Regions from separate parts of the Homo sapiens genome. Here region 2 is linked to region 1. Evidence: promoter capture Hi-C in 16 types of primary human blood cells and fetal thymus (Javierre and others, 2016). All regions are on one chromosome and are shown on one strand. Each heading gives the region's core, a stretch centred on a gene start or on the middle of the fragment in contact. The rest is flanking DNA. Distances are from core to core; before and after follow the strand shown. Region 1 holds the start of MAP3K8 (mitogen-activated protein kinase kinase kinase 8). Region 2 holds the start of LOC105376479 (a long non-coding RNA gene).

Evidence for each region. Contacts are between HindIII fragments. The CHiCAGO score rates a contact against its expected background, and 5 or more counts as called.
Region 2: a contact is called between a fragment that was not itself captured here and the fragment with the promoter of MAP3K8 in region 1, in 2 of 17 cell types (monocytes and megakaryocytes). The highest score is 7.6, in monocytes.

The regions. Positions count from the first base shown.
Region 1 is chr10:30,429,643-30,437,061 of GRCh38, forward strand. MAP3K8 (mitogen-activated protein kinase kinase kinase 8) reads left to right here and starts at 4,542. Exons shown (of 9, transcript NM_005204.4): 1 at 4,542-4,736. RefSeq lists enhancers at 2,529-3,410, 4,082-4,221, 4,942-5,041, 5,332-5,381, 5,506-6,043 and 3 more and a silencer at 4,262-4,501. The HindIII fragment of the contact is 9,039 bases long and covers 3,923-7,419 here.
Region 2 is chr10:30,581,325-30,588,743 of GRCh38, forward strand. LOC105376479 (a long non-coding RNA gene) reads left to right here and starts at 6,362. Exons shown (of 4, transcript XR_930794.4): 1 at 6,362-6,462; 2 at 6,830-6,921. The HindIII fragment of the contact is 3,568 bases long and covers 3,128-6,695 here.

The sequences.
Region 1 (7,419 bases), core at 3,292-5,791:
GTCTGGAAAAAAAAAAAAAGAAAGAAAGAAAAGGGAAAAAAAACCAGAAAAACTTTAATTATTTTTATTTTATTTTTTATTTTTGAAATGGAGTTTCACTCTTGTCGCCCAGGCTGAAGTACAATGACACGATCTCAGCTCACTGCAACCTCTGTCTCCCAGGTTCAAGTGAGTCTCCTGCCTCAGCCTCCCAAGTAGCTGGGAGTACAGGCATGAGGCACCACACCCGGCTAATTTTTGTATTTTTAGTAGTGATGGGGTTTCACCATGTTGGTCAGGCTGGTCTCAAGCTCCCGACCTCAGGTGTTCCCACCTGCCTCGCCTCCCAAAGTGTTGGGATTACAGGCATGAGCCACCACACCCGGCCAGAAAAACTTCAATTATATCTGAAATCCACTCACATTATCATAAGAAACTTACACATATCAATGAAAAAAAAAAGAGATACTGAATTTTTAGAATCCAATTTCAAATTGTTCACAATTTAAGACAATAATAATAGTTGTAAATGTATTACCTACGTGTCTGTACAGCTTCTCACCTGAAAGTTATTATCAAAAGTATAAAGAAGTTGTTGTTGAAACTCTTAATCTGTATAGCTGTTTCAACATGAAACCATAAAGAAAAAGTTATGATCATGAAATCAGGCTCAAGTTCCTCTTAACTTTAAAAATATCTCATTTAAAGCTTTATTCAAATTATCTACTTTCAATACTTTGTATTTTATTGTTTTTTTTTAACAAAAAACAACATATTTTCGCCAAGTGACCTATAGCTATGCTCCCAATTTATTGCAGTTATTTTATTCACAAAATTCCATATTTTATGAATATAAAAAACTGAGAAACAATGCCCCATATCATATTAATTAGTCTAGAGCACAATTGTGGTTACATCGGTTAATGGGCCAACAGGGTTACCTACCCATTGTTAATAATTTTCTTTCTGTGAGTAAAATAATTTGGATTTCCAAACTACAAATTACAAACCCATTAATGTCCCAACCTATGAGATGGAGCAAGCTTCTTCAGGTAAACTGCAATCGGTTACAGCCTTATTTGCAAATGCATTTTGCTTGCTTCAAACAGCTTCTAGAGAGCTGTTTCGTAATGTGCTTTAGGATCACTTCCAGAATAACCCCCTATGGTTGTGTGCACTGTGGCTCAAGGGACTTCTCATTGGTAGGTTTAAAACTCACTTAGCTCGCCCCTAGAAGAGCAGGATTGTTTTTGTAAGCCTGCATAAAAAACAAAAAGCCAGACCAGAAAAATGCAAGGAGTCTAGGCAAGGTGGCTCACGCCTGTAATCCCAGTACTTTGGGAGGCTGAGGCGGGCAGATCGCTTGAGCTCAGAAATTTGAGACCAGCCTGGGCAACATGGCAAAACCCCGTCTCTAACGCTACCCAAAATACAAAAATTAGCCGGGTGTGGTGGCATGCGCCTGTAGTTCCAGCTATCTGGGAGGCTGAGGTGGGAGGATCACTTGAGCCAGGGAGGTGGAGGTTGCAGTGAGCTGAGATCGCCCCACTGCAGTCCAGCCAGGGCGACAGATCCAGAACCTGTCTCAAATACATCATACATACATACATACATACATACATACATACATACATACATACAGGGAGTCCACAGACTTTTTCTTTCTTTTCAGTTGCTCTCTCCCTTTTGGCCTCCTTGTTAAAAACTCTACATACGTTTTCAAGTAAAACCTTCTAATTTACCCCAACAGATGAACCTGCTCTGGATTAAGCCAGAAGCAAGAGAGAACCCTGCTAGACCAGCCATTTCACCAGCTCCCTAAAATGCAGCTATATTTGGGAGACTTCTGTGTAGGAAGTAAGGCTAATAATGCAGTTCCCAGAAGATTAGGTGTGGTTTTAATGAGCTCACACAAGGCGGGTGGGGAGGGGAGTGGTTCCATGGTTCTATTTTTAAAACTCGTGTAAAGATCATCCTTTGTTGTCTAAACACGGCAGTAGAGAAAGAGACGTCTCTGTTTCTCACGTTACAATCAGAGGTAACAACCTGTGCTAACCTGGTTTCCAGCGAAAAGGCCAAAAGTGTACTGATAACTTCGGCTTCAGCTGAGACTGGGATAACCCGCTTGAGCCAGTGCCAAATTCCACCCATCCGGCGCGCAAGCGAGCGGGGCTTCTCCTCCCCAACCCCGGCCCAGGCTGCTTCTGCCGGGTCAGTGCTGCCGGGTTGGTGGAAGCTGCCTTCCCTCCCTCCAAGATCAGAAAGGCGGAGGGTTCAGGAAGGGGTTCTCCTCTAGGTGCAAGGGACTGCCTGGATATTTGGAGGGAATGGCAAAGCCCTGCTTCATGAGGTGAATGAATATAAATTAAATCGCTCTCGTATTTAAAATAACTTGACGGATGACAGTGCCCATTCAGTCAATCGGCCCTCGACGTTGGATTTGCTACCTGGGCTTGTTGTCTGCGAGTTAAGGTCCTGCAAAAAGCCCCTGGCTTGTCACCTCAACTAACCTATCTCCTCCAGCAATTCTCTCAATACATCCTCGGGTTGTATTGTAATTCATTTTCCATAGCAGAAATGTGGAGGGCTCTAGAGAAGGTACAAGGCAAATTTTTTTTTTAAATTTTATTTTTGGTTGGCCGCGGTGGCTCACGCCTGTAATCCCAGCCCTTTGGGAGGCTGAGGCGGACGAATCACCTGATATCGGGAGTTTGAGACCAGCCTGACCAACATGGAGAAACCCCATCTCTACTAAAAATACAAAATTAGCCGGGCGTGGTGGCGCATGCCTGTAATCCCAGCTACTCGGGAGGCTGAGGCAGGAGAATCGCTTGAACCAGGGAGGCGGAGGTTGTGGTGAGCCCAGATCGCTCCATTGCACCCCAGCCTGGGCAACAAGAACGAAACTCAGTCTCAAAAATTTTTTTGTTTTATTTTATTTTTTAAATTTGAGACAAGGCCTCGCTCTGTCGCCCAGGCTGGAGTGCCATGGCGCAATCATAGCTCACGGCAGACTCGAACTGCTGGGCTCAAGGGATCCCCCTACCTCAGCTTCCGAGGAGCTAGGATGACACGCGTGAGCCACCATGCCTGGCTAATTTTTAGATTTTTTGTAGAGACGGGGTAGCTATGTTGCCCAGGCTGGTCTCCAACTCCTGACCTCAAGTGATCCTCCCGCCTCGGCCTCCAAAGCGCTGGGATTACAGGCGTGCGCAACCGCGCGGAGGCAATCTAGAAACTGCAGAGGGAGCACGGACCTGGGCACTGGGAAGAATAGGGCGTGGACTTGGAGTGTGACCGCGTTTGAATCTGGGTTGTGCCTGGGACACCCCACCTCCTGGGCCGTAGGTGGGGGGGGAGAGAGAGAGAGAGAGAGAGAGAGAGAGAGGATGTCGACCTTACATGGCTCCTAGCTCTCCGCGCTCTAGCCGAATGCCTGGTTCCTAGTGGGTGCTTGATACGTGGGAAATGTAGGGGGAGGGGGTGGCGGGGCATTGGGAATGTCCCGCAGAGTGGATTTCGGGAGAGTGGCGCTTTTCTCTAGAACTCTCTTCCGGTTACACCTGGAGTAAAAGCTTGACACTCTAGAAGGAAAACCCCAGATGAGCAGCTAGGACTGAGGGTTAGCGGTAGGCGGGAGCGGGGAGATAGTACAAGTACGCTTCCTAATGAGGCGGTGCCGCAAAATAACCAATTTTAATAAAGACTGCAGAGAAGAAAACCAGGTTCTGCTGGCGGAGTGCACAGGCTCCCAGCCGAGCGCCCAACAACCAGGTTCCGGGCCCACCCTGCCGCAGCCTCTTGGAAATCTCTAAGTTGGAATGTGTGCGTGCGCACCACGGGTCACTGCCCTCTTTGTGTGTGAATTTGAAGCGAAATCTGGGCGAGGCGGGGCCGTGCTACTAGCAATCGGACCCACAGTCGCGGTTCCAAGAAGCCCCGAAGCTTCCCCGGCTTCCCGCAGCACTGCTGGGAGGGCACACGGCGCCTCTGTCCCCACCCCAGAGCGTGGGGCGCGCGGAAAAAGGTCTGGTGACTGCCCTCCCCGCCGCCCCCCGGGAGCGTGCCCTCCCGCCGGACCCTGGGACTCCAGAGAAGCGCCGAGGGCGCGAGTACACTAAGATATACGACCTTCCCTGGGGACCGGGAAGGGCACAACCACCTCTTGCAACTCCGCCACTAAGACGCCTTGGGTCACCAGGCCCGGGGGAAAACTCGTCCCCGTCCCAGGCTCTCGATTCGGGCCGCAGCTCACGTCCCGCGCTCCTCCCTGCGCGCCGCTCTGCTCCTCCCTAGTCCCGCCTCCAGCTCCGCCCGGGCGCCCAGAGGGCAAATGAGGGGCGGCGGGGTGGCGGGTGGGGGGGAGACGCGGAATTTCCCAGCGCGGGGGCTCTGGCTTACCCTGCAACCGGGCAGTCTCTTTCTGTTTACGGAGAGAAAGGGGAAATGGAAAAGTCGGGGAGGCGGTGGCTGGCGTCCGCTGCGCCGCCCCTGGGCAGGCTCAGACGCCGTGAGTCAGGGGCAGAGCAGGGCGGTCTGAGCGTGCGGGCGACGCGGGTCTCACTCGTCCGCTCCGCTCTGGACTGCGCGCCACGCTCTGGGGTCCGGCGCCCTGGTTCCTGCTTCTGCCGCTGCCGCCGCCGGATCCCAGTGGCCCGGCGTGCTCGGCTCCCACAGGCCTGCAGCCAGCATCGCACCGAACCTTCGGGGGGCCGCGGCTGGAGCGCTCGGCCGGCGTGGGAGCGCCAAGGCCGCAGGTAATCCAGGGTTGGGGGTCTCCGGCGTGTCTTTCGGGTCGCGTCCCGCCTGGGTGCCCCGGGGATTCCCATGCAGAAATGGAGGGTGCCCCCAGCAGAGGGGAAAACTCTGGCGTGGGAAGAGGTGGGGGCGTGCCCACAGCTGCGCTCGCGGGTCGCCGGCTGCACCAGGCACAGCTGGAAAGCACCTTGCGCAAGGGTCTCACGGGGTGCAGACTCGCGACTCCTCCCCCTTCCTCCTCCTTCCCGTATCCGCAGCGCCAGGGCAGTGCTGGTCTGGGCAGTGCGCGGGGAAGCGGGGACCCGCTGTCACTGCGCCTCCCGCTGCCGACGCCGCCTGGACGGCCGCACTCTCCCTGCCCGAGACCCGGTGAGTGCAGCTCGGAGGCTGGAGGACCCGATCCTCCCAAATGCTGGGTGCTTTGATAATTTATAAGCCTTTTAGGCTCCCTTGACTTAGAGAACCAGGAGGAAAGGAGTGGGAGTGTGGGTTGGCGGAGCCCAGAGACTTGTGAATGGCTGGAACTAAATTCAAGTTTGTAACCCGGACTCTATCCCATGACTAAAGAGGTCATAGCAGAACACGAAGGCTGGGCTTTTGGTCTAAGAAAGAATACTAGGAGAAAAAAAAAGTTATTTTCACGGAAGTTGTTTTCGAGCGATAGTGCATGATCAGGACTCTGAAATTTTTCTAGCTCTGGGCGGAGAAGGACGCCTAGGGATTGTCTCCATAGTTAACAGGGGAAGGCCACCGGCTGCCTGTAAGAGAGAAACGTTGCGATGCTTGTCTATTTCACTTTTGGGAAGACAAGATTAAAGGCTGCTCTTGATAAAAAACAGGGACAGAAAGGCTCTTGCAGTTGCTTTACATACCTGTGGCCTGAGTCGTTTGTGCCAAGGAGAGTGTAATCCACTTCCAGCTGACGCCCCCAGCTCTCTGCGACGGATTGAGGTTTGTGTGCAGGACGTCTGGCATACGGCCCATGAGGACTTTGTCGTGTAAAGCAAATGGGAACGTTGAGGCATGTAGAGGTTTTGAAGCAGAGTGTCGGTCCTTCCTTCCATACGCCTGAAACGCATAATCCGGGGCTTTTTGAGAGCAAAAACATAGTCAGAAATGTGCCCTGAGGGAGAATGTACTATTTTGGCACACATATGTATATATGTATATATAATTTTTAAATTTTTTTTGAGAGGGGGTTTCACTCTTGTCGCCCAGGCTGGAGCGCAATGGCGCGATCTCGGCTCACTGCAACCTCCACCTCCCGGGTTCAAGCGATTCTCTTGCCTCAGCCTCCCGAGTAGCTGGGATTACAGGCGCCCGCCGCCACGCCCGGCTAATTTTTGTAGAGACAGGGTTTCACCATGTTGGCCAGGCTGGTCTTGAACTCCTGACCTCAGGTGATGCACCCTCCTTGGCCTCCCAAAGTGCTGAGATTACAGGCATGAGCCACTGTGCCCGGCCTAAAAAAATATTTTAAATGAGAAATAACACAAGTAATAGTCATTCTTTGTTAGGCAGAAGCATATGCTGTTATGCTGGCCATTTTCATTCACACTTGCCAGGAAACACTCACATTTTGTTTCTGTATATGGAGGCAGCCAAGAGTATTATGTTAATGTTTAGGAAGAGAATTTCCTCGTGATTTTATTGCTGATTTCTGAAATAATTCAGTGTAACTAATTTTGACTGTATTTGCACATCTCTCCAATTCCAAAAGCTGGCATAATTTTCTGTTTGGTTAGGAAGTAGGAATTTTATGAGGACTTTTATTGTAAACTGTGTCAAGGGAAAAATCATCTTATACTAAACGTCTTTATTGCCAAACTAGAATACCTTCACAATCTGAACTTTCTCTAGATGGGCACAGATCATGAATAACTCAGAAACCATTAGCATATTGTGTGCTTAATTAAGGCTGGAAAGTGCTGAGGCTTTTTGCAGGCGCAGTTAGCAGGCGAACTGGTCAGCAGGGTTTCTGGGGAACGTAGATTTGCGTGACAGGGGCCCTGTGTTGCTAAGGAATTACTGCAGGCACTGAGAAAAGTCTCAGCGTCAGACACTCCTCCACCTCCCGGGTCCTGCTTCCCTCCCTCTCCCCTTTCCAGGCAACTCACAGTTTAGGGGTGTGGTTGTGTGTGTTCAAGCTCTTGGGTTTTACATATAAATGCCTGAGACTTTTCTGCAGGGTTTAAAAACTAACATCTTGTCTTACAGCTCTTTTAGGATTTGTCTTTTAGAATCTCCAGTCCTCACAGGAAAACCCCCCAATTAAAAAAATAAAAGAATAAAGAATAAAAAGAATACCACTACTACTATAAAAAAAAAAAAAATCCTCTAAAATTTGTCTTCCCAGATCAGCAGAGTGAATTTGAACTGTGTGGACTTTTTTCCTCTTTCTTTCTTGAGTCATGTTAGTACTGAGAACTTTTTTTTTTTCTGTCAAATCATCTGTTTGATAAATAAGTCCAGGAGACTTGGATCCTTTCAACCCCTGAGGCCCTAAATTAGGCTGTTTTTTTTTTAACCTCTGTGTTTCCAGTAAATTCGACAAGCAGAAACTGCAACTAAACGGCTCAGTAAAACCGAAGTCAAATGTTCCTCCATTAATCTAAGAAGTTGCTCTCCTAACTCAGCAGACTCCAAGAACCTGAATCACAATCTCCCTCGAAGATGTACAAG
Region 2 (7,419 bases), core at 3,662-6,161, 150 kb after region 1:
ATTTTCACCACTACATTCCAGCCTGGGCAACAGAGACAGACCCTGTCACACACACACACACACAAAAAAAATTAAAAAGTAACTTGTGGAGCAATACTTTGAGACTAAGTAAATATCTTGCTCGTATCAAAACTTCACCCACCAGGTTTAGCTTTTTTTTTTTTTTTTTGAGATGGAGTCTCGCTCTGTCGCCCAGGCTGGAGTGCACTGGCGCGATCTCAGCTCCCTGCAACCTCCACCTCCTGGGTTCAAGCGATTCTCCTGCCTCAGCCTCCCGAGTAGCTGGGACTACAGACGCATGCCACCACACTCAGCTAATTTTTGTATTTTTAGCAAAGACGGGGTTTCACCATGTTGGTCAGGATGGTCTTGATCTCTTGACCTCGTGATCTGCCGGCTCAGCTTCCCAAAGTGCTGGGATTACAGGCATGAGCCACCGTGCCTGGCCCAGCATTTGGTATTAATACATTTCTAATTCCTTCATTCTTTCCACATTTATCAGCTTGCACGCTGCTATAAGGAAGGGTTTCCCTCTCCCTAATCAATTTATTATTTATTTTTCATTTATTCGTTTATATCAATATGAACTCATGGATTCTTGTTCTACACCACTTGGTTTGATTTTTACATTATCCCCACTTTGGCCAGTAGGGGGCCCTAGCTACCTCCCACATCCTCCTGCTATAGCCCTTCAGTCTGTTTTCCTGACTTTCCAGCACAAGTCCTTTTTTCTTTTTGGCTAAATCTAATGATCCATGTAGTCTGTCCTGTGAGCTTGGGATTCTACCCAGAAGTCAACAGACAAGAGAGGAATTTTGATAAAAGATTAAAAAAAAAAGACAGTTTCTGAGTAAAATGATAGCCCAAGGCATCTCCTTTCTAGACCTCCGATGAATTGATGAAGAAATATGAAAAACAGAAAAGACTCCATAACAGTGCAGGAAATTAGGGAAGAGATCCCCTGCATATTAGAAATTCAATTTCCCTTCTCAAGAAACAGCAGCAACAAGGGCTGAGATCACTTATAAGTGGGAGCTAAATAATGTGTGCAGGGCTGGGCACGGTGGCTACACCTGTCATCCCAGCATTTTGGGAGGCCAAGACGGGCAGATCACTTAAGCCCAGAAGTTCAAGACCAGCCTGGGCAACATGGCAAAACCCCATCTCTTTGGGGTATGGCGGTGCATATCTGTGGTCCCAGCTACTCAGAAGGCTGAGGCTGGAGGATTGATTGAGCCTGGGAAGTTGAGGCTTCAGTGAGCTGTGATCACACCACTGTGCTCCAGCCTGGGCAACAGAGAAAGACCCTGTCTCAAAAAATAATAATAATAAAATAATGTACACACATGGACATAGAGTGTGAAATGATAGAGATTGGAGACTTAGAGGAAGGGGGGTGATGAGAAATTACTTAATAGGTACGGTGTACATTATTCGGGTGATGGATACACTAAAAGCCCCGAATTTACCACTATGCAATATATCCCTGTAATAAGTTACACTTGCACCACATACATTTATACAAATAAAAAATTTTTTAAAGAAGAAAATAATTGTAACCCTTGTTCCAGGGCCTCATGGCGTTTCATGCCACCTGGGCGAGACAGCGTGCGTTCTTACTGGGCACTGGCACTTTGGACGTCTGTCGAGTGACTGACTTTTGGAAGGTCCTCATCATCTGTCTTAGTTGAAATCTCTTTTAATGATCAGGTTACCCAATGAAAGTATACTTTGTATGGATCAGAAAGACCCTTTGTTTCCCGCAATTAATTAAGTACACTAGCTTTGCAAAAGCATCTTCAACCTCTATCAGGCTATAGAGATTCCGCCTTTCTCCCACCACCTCCAACCTTGGCATTGCTCCCACAGCCCATCTGGGGGCCGGTGCCCCCTCTTCTCTGTGCCGTCTGCTTCCACCCTGCTAATCTCTTTCTTTTATTATTTTTTAATTTATTCTTCTTATTTATTTTTTGTCTTTTTTTTTTTTTTTTTTGAGACCCAGTTTCACTCTGTCACCCAGGCTGGAGTGCAGTGGTGCAATCTTGGCTCACTGCAGCCTCCACCTCCCGGGTTCAAGCAATTCTCATGCCTCAGCCTCCCAAGTAGCTGAGGTTACAGGTGCAAACTGCCATGCCAAGCTAATTTTTGTATTATTAGTAGAGATGGGGTTTTACCATGTTGACCACGCTGGTCTCATGGTCTCCACCCGCCTCAGCCTCCCAAAGTGCTGGGATTACAGGCATGAGCCACCACATCCAGCCACTATTTATTTTTTGTCCTTCTAATCCTTGGAACCTGTGAATTGTTTTTCCTTATTTATTTAATTACGTATTTATTGTTATGCTGCTAATCTCAAAGGACGCTTTCTTCTAGAAAGCAGAAACAATTGATTCTGCAAATGTGTGGTTTCCCATTGACATCTAAGGAAAAATGAAACAGGGCCTGGGAGACAGTTTACACCGTATTCATCCAGGACATTCTCACTGATGGACTTTCCACGAAAGCTCTGCAAGTTTTCCTTTCAGTTTCACTGTCCGTTGGCCGGTACTGGTTGCTTGACTAAGCCCTGTTGGCGTGGGTTACTGCTCACCCTGACAGGTCTTTGTGAAACATGAAACAATACAAACATTCTTCTCATTTCCCCTCCGTTCTTCCTCTTGGAGCTGTTCCCAGTCCCGGTGGCCCTTCTGAAGCCGAGTGGGAAGCTCAGAAGGAACCTCTGGATTTGTTTACCGGTGTCAGGAATGGAAACTGCTGGGGCACCTGTGTACTCTTGCTGGTTTCTTAAACTCTGTCTGAATCCCACACACCCTTGCTTTTCGGGGAGTTGTGGCTGGCTGGGACAGGAGCAAGGAGTCTCTCCTTTGAGTCAAAGGAGGCACAGTAGCCAGAAGGAGGGCTTAGATATGAGAATGTTACAGGCCAAGAAGCTAGACGGACCATCTGGAGAGTGACCAAAATGAAAAGCGCAGCGGCAGTTGTGCAGCTGTGGTCTGGAGCGAGGTGTCCAGGGTCTTGGGCAATGGAAGACATAGAGGAGGCCAGAGATGATTGCTTCCAATGGAGTCTGTAGCTCGCACTTGCTTTTGTGGCCAGTGATGTGAGCAGATGGGTTTACCAGGCTATAAGCTTTTGGTGGCTGTGTGCAAAGACTTCCACTGAGATGATCGTGTCTCCTCAGGCACATCTGGGTGTTGGTCCTGACAGCTGGAGTATTGGGGTTTGAGTTTTGCCTGAAGGACTCACTGGTGAGGCTGAACCAAGTGTGTTTCTTTGGCCATCACAAGGACCCAGGCAGGATGTCATACTCAGCAGTACAGCAAGAACTGGTCCAATGCTTCAGATCTGTGATTCTCAATGGGCAGAGGGCAATAAGTAATGTCTGAAGACTTTTTAAAAAAAAATTAATTAGAGAGAGGGTCTTGGCTCACTGCAGCCTCCAACTCCTGGGTTCAAGTGATCCTTCTGCCTCAGCCTCCCAAGTAGCTAGGACTACAGAGGTGTCCCACCATGCCAGGCTTGAAGACTTTAAAATTTTATATATTTTATTTCAATTTTTTTTGAGTTGTGGTCTCACTCTGTCACCCAAGCTGGAGTGCAGTGGCGTGATCAAGGCTCACTGCAACCTCCACCTCCCCAGATTCAAGCAATCCTCCTGCCTCAGCCTCCTGAGCAGTTGGGATTACAGGCGTGAGCCACCACACCTGGCTAATTTTTGCATTTTTGGTAGAGACGGGGTTTTGCCATGTTGATCAGGCTAGTCTCGAATTTCTGAGCTCCAGCAATCCACCCATCTAGGCCTCCTAAAGTGCTGGGACTACAGATGTGAGCCACCCCCAGCTCGGCCTAAGTTTATTTTTTGTTCCTAGGTATTTGAGAGGTGCAAGTGCAGGTTTCTTACATGTGTATTTTGCATAGTGATGAAGTCTTAGCTTTTAGTGTACCTATCACCTGAATAGTGAACATTGTACCCAATAGGTAATTTTTCAACACTCACCCCCTCCAACCCTCCCACCTTTTGTAGTCTCCAATATCTGTGATTCTATTCTGTGTGTCCATGTGTACCCACTCTTCAGCTCCCACTTATAAATGAAAACATTCCATATTTGACTGTTTCTGAGTGATTTCACTTAGGATAATGGCCTCTAGTTCCATCCATGTTGCTGCAAAAGACATGATTTCATTCTTTTTTATGGCTGAATAGTATTTCATGATGTGTGTATATATTATATATAATTATATAATATATTATATATTAGTATACATGTACATAATATATTATGTAATATATAATAACATTTAATATATTACATTATATAAACAATATATTATATTATATACATAATAATTATATATTATATATTATTATATTACTATAATATATAAATATAATATATAAATATATACTATATGTTATACTATGTATACACTATATATACTATATTATATTAATATATTATATATAATAGTTAAATATTTTATATACAATTATATGTACAATAATATATAATTATTCTATATATAGTATAATGATATATATATCATATTTTCTTTGTCCAATTCTCCATTGCTAAACACTTAGGTTGATTCCATATCTTTGCTATTGTGAATAGAGCTGTGATAAACATATTAGTGCAGATGTTTAGAAGACATTTTTGAATGTCACTGAGTGGGGATGCAGCCAGCATCTAATGGGTAGAGGTCAGGGATGCTGCTAGACATTCTACAAGACACAGAATTATCAGTGCCCTGTGAGAAAGAATTATTCAGCACTAAGGTTGAGACACCTGCCTAGATTCTAGGAAATACAATGTCGTAAGTTAGCCACTGGGAGGGTGCTAAAGCCCTCCAGGGACTAGTACAAGATTGAAGAGACCCTCACTGTTGAAAGCAGAGGGCATGTACTCCATGTCACACATTTTATGTAAGCCTCACAAAGTTTTTGCCTTCAAGAAAATCTAGAATTAGAAGATCCTTATTTATTTCCACAGTCCCTGGGTTCCACCTTCAAAGTATCAAGATTTGCTGATAGCTGATTATTGCCCCATAGACAGAGTTTTCTTTGTGATGCATCTGCTTATAACTTTTTTGGAGATTCAAGAGTTGCATAGGAAGTTTAGGGGCTGACTGCTTTGCCCACTGGGACTGTAATGTAGGATCCCCTTTGCCTTTTTTTTTTCCATCTATAATCAACAGAAATTTATTTGCTCATGGTTCTGTTGGCTGAGAAGTCCAAGACTGAGGGATCAGCATCTGGTGAGGGCTTTCTTGCTGTGTCAGCCAAAGGTCAGGAACCCTGTACAGGGACTGTGTAGACAAGGTGTGAGGCCAGTTTTCCCAAGGAGCTTGTATTGGCTCTATAAGTCAAGTTTGATTCCTTAAAGCAAATTTCACCATTCCAGTCAAAGCCTTGGTAAAATAACCAGTATCTCCAGTTGTGTCCCTTTTGCTGACATGTCAGTGAAGCAGCTATGTTGTCTGTGGTAAATACCTGGGTCCATCATCTTGTGCTAAGAAAATTTAGCACACAGACATACACAGGAGTTTAGGAGCAGAGATTTAATAGGCAAAAGACAGAGAAAGGAAAACAGCTCTCGCTCTAGTGAGAGAGAAGGGACTTCCATGAAGAAAAGACCCCCCCCTTTGTCTTATTCATATAGCAGCCTAGAAAGAATGCTGTTCTGGGACTCAAGAGGAAGTCACTTGGTTTTTCTGGCCTCAGTTTGCTCACCTGTAAGATGGGCTGGTGCAGCGGATGATCCCTAAGATCCTGCCATTGTGCCCTGATTCTGAGACTAGCATTATCAGGGAATCCATACAGCTTCATGCAGCCATTCTCTTGGGATCACAAAGGTTATGTATCTCCTTGTTTCACTTTAAAATTAGAAGATCTTGGAGATCATCAGTATAAAAGTCATACTGGTGTTTTCCTACCCTAAATATAATGCTCCTTACTCAGGAGAAGGGGGGACTGGGGATAACTTGAGGACAGCATTTGGTTCTGGGAATGAAGAGAGCAACAGGCCCCCCAGGGCAGCTCTTGCCTCTTCAGCCGAAGTTTGAGGCAGGTGACTGCCAGACCTCTTTCCCTGCTGGCCTCTTACCTCTCAACTCCAGAGAGGCATGGGGAGTAGGAGTGCCAGAGAAAATACAGGATGCTGGTTAAATTTGAGTTTCAGATTGACAACAATTTTTTTTTTGTATTAGATATCTTAAACATCGCATGGCTTAGTAGAAGCATATCTCAAATACTGCAGATGTATTTGCTAAGCCTGACAACCTTAGCTGGCAGGGGAACGGAAGAGAGCAAATGAGGAAGTGGGATCCCAGCTGGGACTGCCCCAGAGCACTGGGCTTTGGCCTTGGATCCCCTGGCGATCTTCCCCTCTCAGCGACAGGCAGCGAGGAGGAAGATCATTGGCTTCTCTTAGGGCCTGTGGCTGGAGGGAAAGTCAAGTTCAGGTGAGTGGGGAATGCTAGGGGATTTCCCTGGGGATCAGCAGGGAAGGCAGCCACATCCACACTCACTCAGAGCCGGCTGCTTCTAAGCATCAAGGCCTGATGCCGATGGTGCATGAGAGGGGCCCCTAGGGGCAGCCCCTGGGATCCCCCCAATGAAGGGCTGCTCCTGCAAATGAATGAATGGAGTGGGAGGCCACGGAGAACCTTCCAGGGCTGGTTGGCTGGGAAGTCCAAGCTTTTGCAACTGCAAGGGCCCTCAGCCCTGTCACACCCAGTGACCCCATTTGCTTATCAATACAATATTTTTTAAAAAGTCTTTTTACTATTTTGAAATTGCAACCCAAAATTTATTTTTAAATCTATGCAGTGCAACAACTGTGACATAAGGAATCAGTAGAGTCCATTTCTCTCTGTGAGGAATCTTCAGGAACTTAACCACTACAATATGTACTGACATAGGTATGCTGTGTTCATGATTTATATACTTCTGGGGGCATTAACATTATTAATCTGATTTTACAAAATTGTCAACAATTCTTGGCCAAGTTACAAACAACACACACAAAAAGTCTACCCTTGATTGACAACAAAATGTACGAGAAAATGTCATATACTTATAACCATGTTAATAAAAAGGCCTAATTGGGCATGATGGTTCAGACCTGTAATCCCAGTACTTTGGAAGGCTGAAGCAGAAGGATTCCTTGAGGCCAGGAGTTTGAGACCAGCCTGGGCAACATAGCGAGACTGCCATCTCTACATAAAATAAAATAAAACAAAAAATGCCTACATTTGTCTGCAAAATTTGTGTTTGGGCTGAGATCATTACCTGTGGGTTTTTCACCTGTATGAATGTTCAGCTGTATACTTGGAAATCGTCTAGGACATGGGATGATTTTTCACTTTACAGGGCTGACATAAGCAAAGTGGAACATCTGACCATTAAACTTTAGTAGT